3 separate regions of the Homo sapiens genome follow, and regions 2 and 3 are each linked to region 1. Evidence: promoter capture Hi-C in human tissues and cell types (Jung and others, 2019). All regions are on one chromosome and are shown on one strand. Each heading gives the region's core, a stretch centred on a gene start or on the middle of the fragment in contact. The rest is flanking DNA. Distances are from core to core; before and after follow the strand shown.

What was found. The method cuts DNA at HindIII sites, captures the fragments that hold promoters and counts their contacts. A contact is called where the count stands out against the background at its distance.
Region 2: the fragment with the promoter of EFNA2 here is called in contact with the fragment with the promoter of C19orf25 in region 1 in 9 of the 25 tissues and cell types used here (IMR-90 fibroblasts, dorsolateral prefrontal cortex, heart left ventricle and 6 more).
Region 3: a contact is called between a fragment that was not itself captured here and the fragment with the promoter of C19orf25 in region 1, in 4 of the 25 tissues and cell types used here (IMR-90 fibroblasts, dorsolateral prefrontal cortex, lymphoblastoid cells and 1 more).

What each region holds. Positions count from the first base shown.
Region 1 is chr19:1,477,415-1,480,581 of GRCh38, forward strand. C19orf25 (chromosome 19 open reading frame 25) reads right to left here and starts at 1,801. Exons shown (of 3, transcript NM_152482.3): 1 at 1,749-1,801; 2 at 1,360-1,491. The coding sequence starts at 1,489. RefSeq lists enhancers at 986-1,486, 1,848-1,967 and a silencer at 1,578-1,627. The HindIII fragment of the contact is 27,509 bases long and covers 1-3,167 here.
Region 2 is chr19:1,284,194-1,287,274 of GRCh38, forward strand. EFNA2 (ephrin A2) reads left to right here and starts at 1,680. Exons shown (of 4, transcript NM_001405.4): 1 at 1,680-2,115. The coding sequence starts at 1,976. RefSeq lists enhancers at 764-1,264, 1,265-1,765. The HindIII fragment of the contact is 32,397 bases long and covers 1-3,081 here.
Region 3 is chr19:1,732,028-1,734,980 of GRCh38, forward strand. No RefSeq gene overlaps it. Among named protein-coding and RNA genes, the nearest start is that of ONECUT3, 20 kb to the right of the region's middle. The HindIII fragment of the contact is 7,385 bases long and covers 1-2,953 here.

The DNA.
Region 1 (3,167 bases), core at 551-3,050:
GAAGTGCTCAAGAAAAGGATTGTTGAATGAATGAATGAGCCTCATCCAGAACACAAAATTCACCCAACTGCACTGCTGAATCCTTTGGTCTCTGACTAGCTTCCACCTCGTAAATCAGGAGTGGACAAGCTTTCCTGCCAAAGGCTGGAGTCTCTGCTCCCACTACTCAACTCTGCCCTTCTGGTGTGAGAGCAGCCACTAACCGTATGTGAATCATTTGGCTGTGTGCCGTAAACCTTTACTTACCAACACTGAAATCTGAATTTCATACCTCTTTCAGGTGTCAGAAATGTTCTTTTTCACCCACCCCCATTTAAAAATGTGAAGTCCATTCATAGCTCCCAGACCTTAAAAAAACAGCCAGGGGCAGGGTTTGGGGGGCCCTAGCTTACCACCTCTGTTTTACTTTATTTATTTCTATTTATTAATTATTATTATAATTATTGAAACAGAGTCTCACTGTGGTCCAGGCTGGAGTGCAGTTGCGTGATCTCAGCTCACTGCAACCTCCGACTCCCAGGTTCAAGTGATTCTCCTGCCTCAGTCTCCTGAGTGGCTGGGATTACAGGCCCATGCCACCACACCCGGCTAATTTTTGTATTTTTAGTAGAGACAAGGTTCCACCATGTTGGCCAGGCTGGTGTCCAACCTCTGACCTCAAGTGATCCACCCACCTCGGCCTCCCAAAGTGCTGGGATTATAGGCGTGAGCCACCGCACCGGCCACTTATTTATTTTTGAGACACAGTCTGGCTGTGTTGCCTAGGCTGTATCCTCCCACTTTAGCCTCCAAGAAGCTGGGGCTACAAGTGTCCACCACCACACCCAGTAATTTTTTTTTTTTTTTGAGACAGTCTCGCACTGTCACCTGGGCTGGAGTGCAGTGGTGCGATCTCGGCTCACTGCAAACTCTGCATCCCGGGTTCAAGCGATTCTCCTGCCTCAGCCTCCCGAGTAGCTGAGATTACAGGCGCCTGCCACTATGCCCAGCTAACTCTGTTTTGTTTTTGTTTTTGTTTTTGTTTTGTTTTTTCATTTTTAGCAGAGACGGGGTTTCACCATGTTGGCCAGGCTGGTCTCGAACTCCTGGGCTCAAGCGATCCTCCCGCCTCATCCTCCGAAAGTGCTGGGCTTACAGGCCTGAACCACAGCGCCCGGCCTCCACCCCTGTCAGAAGAACCCTCTGAAAATCGGTCCCACTCTACGGAGGAGTAGAGGGAGACTCGGAGAGGATACGGACCGTGCCCATGTTGCGGGGGTTCCCAGGGCGTGGGGTCAGGAGTTAGGGGTGTGCTTCTCTCCCGTCCCCTTGCTGCCGGGGTCTCAGGTCCGCTTTTCCCCGGGACCGGGCTCCCCCTACCTTCCGGGGCCAGGATGGTGAACACTGGATCCTCTGCCGGCGCACCCCGCACATCCTCCAGGATCTGCTCCACCGTGGGGGGCGCTGGGCGGGTGGGCAGCAGCACGCGCTTCTTTGCCTTGGAGCCCATCTCTGAAGGCGGGGAAGGGGGCGCTGACCGGGGCGTCCACCTCTCCGCCCTTGCCCGGGCTGCTCCTCCCGCCCAGCGAACTCGTACGCACCCGTCGCGGTCCCGCTCCCGGGGAAGCCCGCCCTGTCCCGCCCCTCTGAGCTCGCCCCAGGCCCTGACCCTCCCTCCGCCCAAAAACACGGTGGCCAAGGCTTCAGGGTCTGGCTCAACCTCTGCCTCAGTTTCCCCGCGGTCACCCCAGTCGCCGGCCTCTTCCCACCTGGGCGCGGGACCCGAAAGCCCAGCGTCGACGACGCAGCCACTTCCGATTCCGGTCGGAGCACCGCCCCGTCCCCGAACACGTGACACACACTTCCGGCCTCCTCTCCCGCCGGCCCGCCGCTCATCGCGGGGCTCCGCCCCGTCTTAAAGGGATAGTGCCCTTGAGACTCGGATCTCAGCCTCTCAGGCGAACCCGAACCTGGACGCGCTACGATGAGAGCGAGTTCGAGTCCAGGCTCCACTGGCTGGGTAGAAAAGCATCCGAGGCTCGTCTTTCTGAAAAGGGGAACACGGCACTAGGGGACACGCCACCCATGTGGCTGACGGGAGCACAAAATTGCTGTCCACCTAAGGGAGCCTGGTGGTGCATGAGCACTCGGCGGCCGGAACACAGCGGGGGCGGGGCGGTCGCGGCGCCTCCACTTCCGGCCAAGGCGGGTCCTCCCACCTCGGGGACGGTGCTGGAGGTCACCTTTTCCTCTCCGCTGATGCCTGGGAAGGCAGAAAGAGCAGAGGGCCCTTTTCCTCTCTCAGGGGCTTTATTGAGATGCAGTTTACATACCATAAAGTTCTCCTGTTTATTTCGTTTTGTTTTGTTTTTTTAGAGACAGAGTCTCACTGTGTCGCCCAGGCCGGAGTGCAGTGGCGTGATCTCAGCTCACTGCAACCTCCGCCTCCCGAGTTCAAGCAATTCTCCTGCCTCAGCCTCCCGAGTAGCTGGGACTACAGGCGCCCGCCACCACGTCCGTCAAAATTTTTTTTTGTATTTTAGTAGAGATGGGGCTTCACTGTGTTGCCCAGGCTGGTGTCAAACTCCTGAGCTCAGGCAATCCGCCCGCCTCAGCCTCCCAAAGTGCTGGGATTACGGGCGTGAGCCACCGCGCCCGGCCAAATTCGCCTGTTTAAACTGTAAATTCAGCCTGGGCGCGGTGGCTCATGCCTGTAATCCCAGCACTTTGGGAGGCCGAGGCGGGCAGATCACTTGAGGCCAGTTTGAGACCAGCCTGGCCAACATGGTGAGACCCCGTCTCTACTAAAAATACAAAAATTAGGCTGGGTGTGTTGGCTCACGCCTGTAATCCCAGCGCTTTGGGAGGCCGAGGTGGGTGGATCACGAGGTCAGGAGATCAAGACCATCCTGGCTAACATGGTGAAACCCTGTCTCTACTAAAAATACAAAAAGAAAAACAAAATTAACCAGGCATGGTGGCGGTTGCCTGTAGTCCCAGCTACTCAGGAGGCTGGGGCAGGAGAATGGCATGAACCCGAGAGGCAGAGCTTGCAGTGAGCCGAGATCGTGCCACTGCACTCCAGCCTGGGCGACAGAGCAAGACTCTGTCTCAAAAAAAAAAATATTGTTGAGAGAGAAGGAAGGAAGGAAGGGACAGAGAGAGGGAAAAGGAAAGAAAGAGAAAGA
Region 2 (3,081 bases), core at 430-2,929, 190 kb before region 1:
CTCCAGCCTGTCTGGGCTACAGAGCCTTGTGTGGCTAGAACCCAAGGCCCTCACTCCAGGGGTGCTGAGAGAGCCTGTCCAGAGGGCCTGCCTCAGCCACCACCTGGGACAGGTTCACGCCCTCCACTGAAGAGACACCCGGCCAGCCCTGGGCCTTCGACCTGGGACGTCTGTAGTGGGGTCAGGGGATGAGACCTGGAGCTCAGAACAGACGGGCTGAGCTCCCTGGAGGAGAGAGAACTGAGAACCTTGTCCTGGCAGGGACGCTAGAGCACTGGGTGGGACAGACCTTTCTGGAAGAGCAAGATTTTAACAGGAAGAAAAAGTGGAAGGACTTCCCAGCAGGACCCAGCCTGAACAAAGGTCAGGTGGTGTGGCCCGCGTGGCCCGCTGGGGAATCGGGGGAGGAGGGCACGCAGGAGACACAGGACAGAGCCCACCACGTCTCAGAGCTGTGGGACGGTGGTGGGTCCGGTCCCCACCCCACCTTGCTGGGGCACAGGTTAGCTTGCCCATCTCTGGGTTCACGGTCCCTGCCAGGAGTTTGGGTAATGCCTCACACAGGGACCTTCGGGTCCAAGGGCTGTTGGTGCTTGCCCTGCAGTTCCCTCTCCTGCACTGGGCCTGGTGAATGACACTAATTCAGAGACGTACAACACGATCTGGGCATCGCCAGCAAAGTCCAGCCAGCGTTTGATGACAGCCTACCCTCCACAAGCTCAGAGTCTGGTGAGGGAGGCTGTGGCATGAATAAGGGCAAAAACAGAGGGCAGGCCAGGTGCAGTGGCTCACGCCTGTAATCCTAGCACTTTGGGAAGCCCAGGTGGGAAGATCGCCTGAGCCCAGGAGTTCAAGACCAGCGTGGCCAACATGGCCAGACACTGTCTCTATAGATTGGAAAAAAGACAAAGCAGAGGCCAGGCCCCCAGTTCCCCACCTGTGTCAGCCTACCAGGAGGAGAAATCACTCGGCGTTCCCTGAACAGATCAGACCCCGGGTCTTTGCACAAGCTGTGCCCCCGGGCAGCGGCCCTCCCCTGCCTGCAGGATTCGTGCGTGGAGACTGATTTGCTGTCGGCCGGGGCTTCACTCTGGGCTTCTTGGATCCCATCCCCAGCTGCTCACACTCCACATCGGTCCACCTACTATGCTCCCGGCACCCTTAGGGCTGAGGTGTAGGGACTTACTCCATCCCCAGGGAACAGCGTGGGTCCGGAGAGGCGACTCCCAGGAGGGCCCCAGGGAGGTCGCAGCCCGAGCAGCTTTGGACTTTGGCCAGCGCCCCTCTGAAACTCTGCCCCGGCCCCCGCAGGGAGACTGGAGTTGGCCGAGCCCGATTTGGGACGCGTGCGTCGGGGTTGGTGAGGCTGCGGATAGCGCTGGAACCGGGCAGGTGAGAGGCCCGGGACCCAGGGCCGGGCCGGGTGGAGCGCGTGGGGGCGCGGGAGGCAGGGTGCGCCCCCGCCCCTCGGAGACCCCAGGCCGGGCCACGCGGATGCCGGCGGGGGGCGCGCAGAATCGGGGTCGCTGGGGGCAGGCCCCGGGGGACGAGCCTGAGACGGGGTGGGCCGGGGCAGGGGGCGGGCGCAGGCTGGAGACCCCCGCCCAGTCCCCGCGCGGCCGGGGCACGGCGGGAGGGGGCGCCCGCGGCCCTCCCGACGCTCGGGCGGGACAAAGGCCGGAGCCCGGGCCCCTCCCCGGCGGGTGCGGCGGCGGCGGCCCGCGCTCCGACAGTCCGCGCGGCCGGGTCCTGCGCCCGGGGCGACCCCGGCGCCCCGCCCCGCCGCCGCCTGACTTCTCGGCGCCCGAGGTCGCGCGCGCGGAGGCGGGGGCGGCCCGGGATCTCCAAGCGCCGCCGCGCCCTCCTCCCGCCCGCCCTCCGCCCGCCCGCTCGGCGGCGGCGGCGGCGGCGGAGGAGGCGGAGAAGGCTGGCAGGCGGCGGCCGGGAGAGCGAGCGCGGCGGCCGGACCGGGGCCATGGCGCCCGCGCAGCGCCCGCTGCTCCCGCTGCTGCTCCTGCTGTTACCGCTGCCGCCGCCGCCCTTCGCGCGCGCCGAGGACGCCGCCCGCGCCAACTCGGACCGCTACGCCGTCTACTGGAACCGCAGCAACCCCAGGTGAGCGCGGCCGCGCGCGGGGGGCGCCCGGGGACCCCCCAACGCCCCCCAAGCCGCGCCCGGCCTCGCGCCCCCGGAGCTCCGGGCGCCCCCCACGCGCGCGCCGCCGCCGGGATGCGGGCGCCCGGTTCCCGCGGGAGCCCCCCAGGGAGCTCCGGCCCCCCGGAGTTTGGGGGACTCGCCCTTTTCGCGCCTGCCTTCCCCGGGGCGCCCCATTGCCCTACGGACTGTGGGGACTCGCGCCCCACATCCCCCAGAGCGCCGACGTCTCCTGGAGTTTGGGGAACCCCTCTGGTACCCTCCGATGCCGGGTAGCCCCTGAGTTGCCTGCCTGGACTTGGGGGGACCCCTGATCCACCCGCTTCTCTGGGGAGCCCCCTCGGTTTCGCATTTGGTGGGGATCCCCGGGGACCTTGGCACCGGAGGTGGGGGACTGTGGCCCTCGAGGGATCTCTGGGTTCGTCCTGCCCGCAGGTCCCCAGATGAACTTGGGGAAGTTGGAGTGTCCCTCCCTCAGGACCCAGCATCTGCTTCACTCCAGGGGGCCAAGGGCCCAGCTTTGAAAGGAGACTGAGGGGCCGGGGAGCTGGGGGTCAGCCCCGGGAGGGGCAGTGGGATGGAGTCCTCTCTTGTCCTCTGGGCGCTGACCAGGAAACTGAGGTGCAGAGGGGATGAGGAGCTGGCTCAAGGTCATGCAAGGGGGGGACTTGGGGGCAGGACCCAGGTGGCCCAGTGCCCTGCCTGCCACGCCCGGCCGAGATGCCGCACCCGCCTGCTGCAGGCCCCCTTGTTTTGAACCAGGTCCGGGCCAGGCACAACGTGGGGGACAGGAGAAGCCCCCGTTGGTCAGAGCAAAAAAAGTTTGCCGGGGCCTGGCCATGGCCTGGACGTGGGTAGAACCCTCTGAACCATCCCAGGGTCTCCAAGACAGGAGCAGGCTGCAGCTTCCCTGGGGGTCCCGTGGGA
Region 3 (2,953 bases), core at 101-2,600, 250 kb after region 1:
GGTGGCGGGCGCCTGTAATCCCAGCTACTCGGGAGTCTGAGGCAGGAGAATCGCTTGAACCCCAGAGGCGGAGGTTGCAGTGAGCCGAGATTGCACCACTGCACTCCAGCCTGGGTGACAGAGGGACATTTGTCTTTAAAAAAAAACAAAAAAAAAAGCTACATGCTGAACAGTGAGTAGAGACTGGTCACATTAAGTCAGAGTATGTCTCTAAGTATATACAGATACTTTTTTTTTTTTTTCCCCTTGAGACAGAGTCTTGCTCTGTCACCCAGGCTGGAGTGCAGTGGCGCGATCTCGGCTCACTGTAACCTCCGCCTTCTGGGTTCAAGCGATTCTCCTGTCTCAGCCTCCCGAGTAGCTGGGATTACAGGTGTCCACCACCACGCCCGGCTAATTTTTGTATTTTTAGTAGAGATGGGGTTTCACCGTGTTGGCGAGGCTGGTCTTGAACTCCTGACCTCAGATGATCCACCTGCCAGGCCCTCCCAAAGTGCAAGGATTACAGGCGTGAGCCACCGTGCCCGGCCACGGATACTCTTCATGGTGTGTATCATGAGGCCCTAGGACAGATAATGAAGGCTTCCACGTCCAAGGGCACAGGGTGGCACGGGAAGGGTTGAGGTGGGCATTTATTTTTTTGCTGTTTCCATGTAAGTTTTGTTTCTCCCACGTATATATGTATATTACTTGCTCAAAAACAGATTGCAAATGTGACAAAAATTACAGATACCTATTTTGTAGTTCAGCTTTTCTGAGGTTCGCAGGACAGGGGACGCCCCTCCCACAGCCCAGCTCCTCTGCAGATGGCTCTGATCTGACTTCCCCAGGGACCCAGGGCTTTTCTCCCGTGATCCCTGCTCCTGGCCTCCAGTTCCCGAAACTCACCAGCTCTGAGCAGGTAGGAAAAAGTGGCTTGTGTCTACAGAGCCCAGTTCTTCTATAAAGTGAAAACAGGCAGCATCGACAAGCATAACCGCCGGGCACGGTGGCTCACGCCTGTAATCCCAGCACTTTGGGAGGCCGAGGTGGGTGGATCACCTAAGATCAGGAGTTCGAGACCAGCCTGACCAACATGGAGAAACCCCGTCTCTACTAAAAATACAAAATTAGCCAGGCATGCTGGCTCATGCCTGTAATCTCAGCTACTCAGGAGGCTGAGGCAGGAGAATCGCTTGAACCTGGGAGGCGGAGGTTGCTGTGAGCTGAGATCGTGTCATTTGCACTCCAGCCTGGGTAACAACAGTGAAACTCCGTCTCAAAAAAAAAAAAAAATCCACTCCAGGCTGGACATGGTGGAGGGCACCTGTAGTCCCAGCTACTCGGGAGGCCGAGGCAGGAGGATCTCTTGAACCCAGGAGGTCGAGGCTGCAGTGAGCCAATTCTCCTGTCTCAGCCTCCCTAGTAGCTGGGATTACAGGTGCCCTCCACCACTACACTCCACCCTGGACAACAGAGTGAGACCCTGCCTCAAAAAACAAAAAAAACAAAACAAATAAAAAAACAATGCAGTCCTACCCCTTGCCTGGCTGCCCCTGACTCTTAAGGGAATGATGACACCTCCCCGCCAGGCCCACAGACGCTGCCGACCCAGCCCCTCCTCACCTCAATGCTCTCCTAACCCCCAAGCCTTTGCCTGCTTTTCCTACTTCTCTTCACTGAATGAACTCCTGCACCTCCTACGCCTTTCGGGGCAACGGTGCCCTTCTCAACTCAGGCTCCCAGACCCGCTGTCAGCCATGGTTTAAAGTCTGCCACTGGCCGGGCACAGTGGCTCATGCCTGTAATCCCAGCACTTTGGGAGGTCAAGGTGGAGGACCACTTGAGGCCAGGAGTTCAAGACCAGCCCGGGCAATATAAAATTCGCTGAGCATGGCGGTGCAAGCCTGTAGTCCCAGCTACTCAGGAGCTGAGTGGGGAGGATGGCTTGAGCCCAGGAGTTCGAGGCTGCAGTAAGCTATGATTGCACCACTGCACTCCAGCCTGGGTAACAGAGCAAGACCCTGTCTCTAAAAAAATAAAGTCAGCCACCACCCTCACACTGTGAGCCTCTCCCATCACCACAGGGCCTTCCATGGCCAGCTCCAGGCCTGGCATCAGCGGGTGCAGGAAAAGCTCAGTGGAGCGATTCCACATCTAGGGCTCGGCTTGTAAAATTAAAATAAGTGGAGACCCCCCCACAACCCCCAGCCACACGCAGGCAGTAGGAACCCGGGAGATGGGACGAGCGCCGAAGGGTTATTAGCAGATGCCTCGAGCCCCCTCGAGCCCCGCAGAGTGGGGGAGGATGGCGGAGGCCCTTTTAAGGACCCAGTATCACCGTCCTTTCTCGGCCAGCCGGGCACCCACCCACCTGAGTGAGCCTGGAGCAGCCCATTAAGCGATTTTTTTCCTCCACTTACGGTTGGCAGCATCGACAAGCATGCTCGATATCTGACGAGGTGCTGGCCTTGGAAGAGAGCGAGCCGCCTCGATAAACTATTCCCTCTTGTCAGCGCCTCCTCCCGCACCCAGCCCGGAGCTTCGCGTTTGATCCCCTCCCCTAATGAGCTCGGTTTTCTCCCCTCCAGGCGGATGAGACGCTCCCCCCACCCTCGCCCGCTCAGCCTTTCAAGTTCAGCTGGGCTGAGATTCAAGGTGGGGGCGGCGGTGGTGGAAGGAAAACCATTTCCAGGTTCCGATGGGGTCACCTCCCCCAGGAAGTCCTCCCAGAATTTCTGCAGCTCAGATGGTCTCGTGCATTTGTGGGGAGGGTCTGGGGTACAGAAAGAGACTGGGACCTAGATATGGGGGGTCGTACAGCAGTGTCCAGGTGCCACGATTGTCATCTGTCCATTCATTCAACAAAGGGTTTGGGGGTGCAGAGCTGGGCACAGGTGCTCCCAGCTGAGGACTGTGCCAACGTGAGGGGCTGGGCAGGATGGGGCAGGGGCCCAGGAGGCGGCAGAGCAGC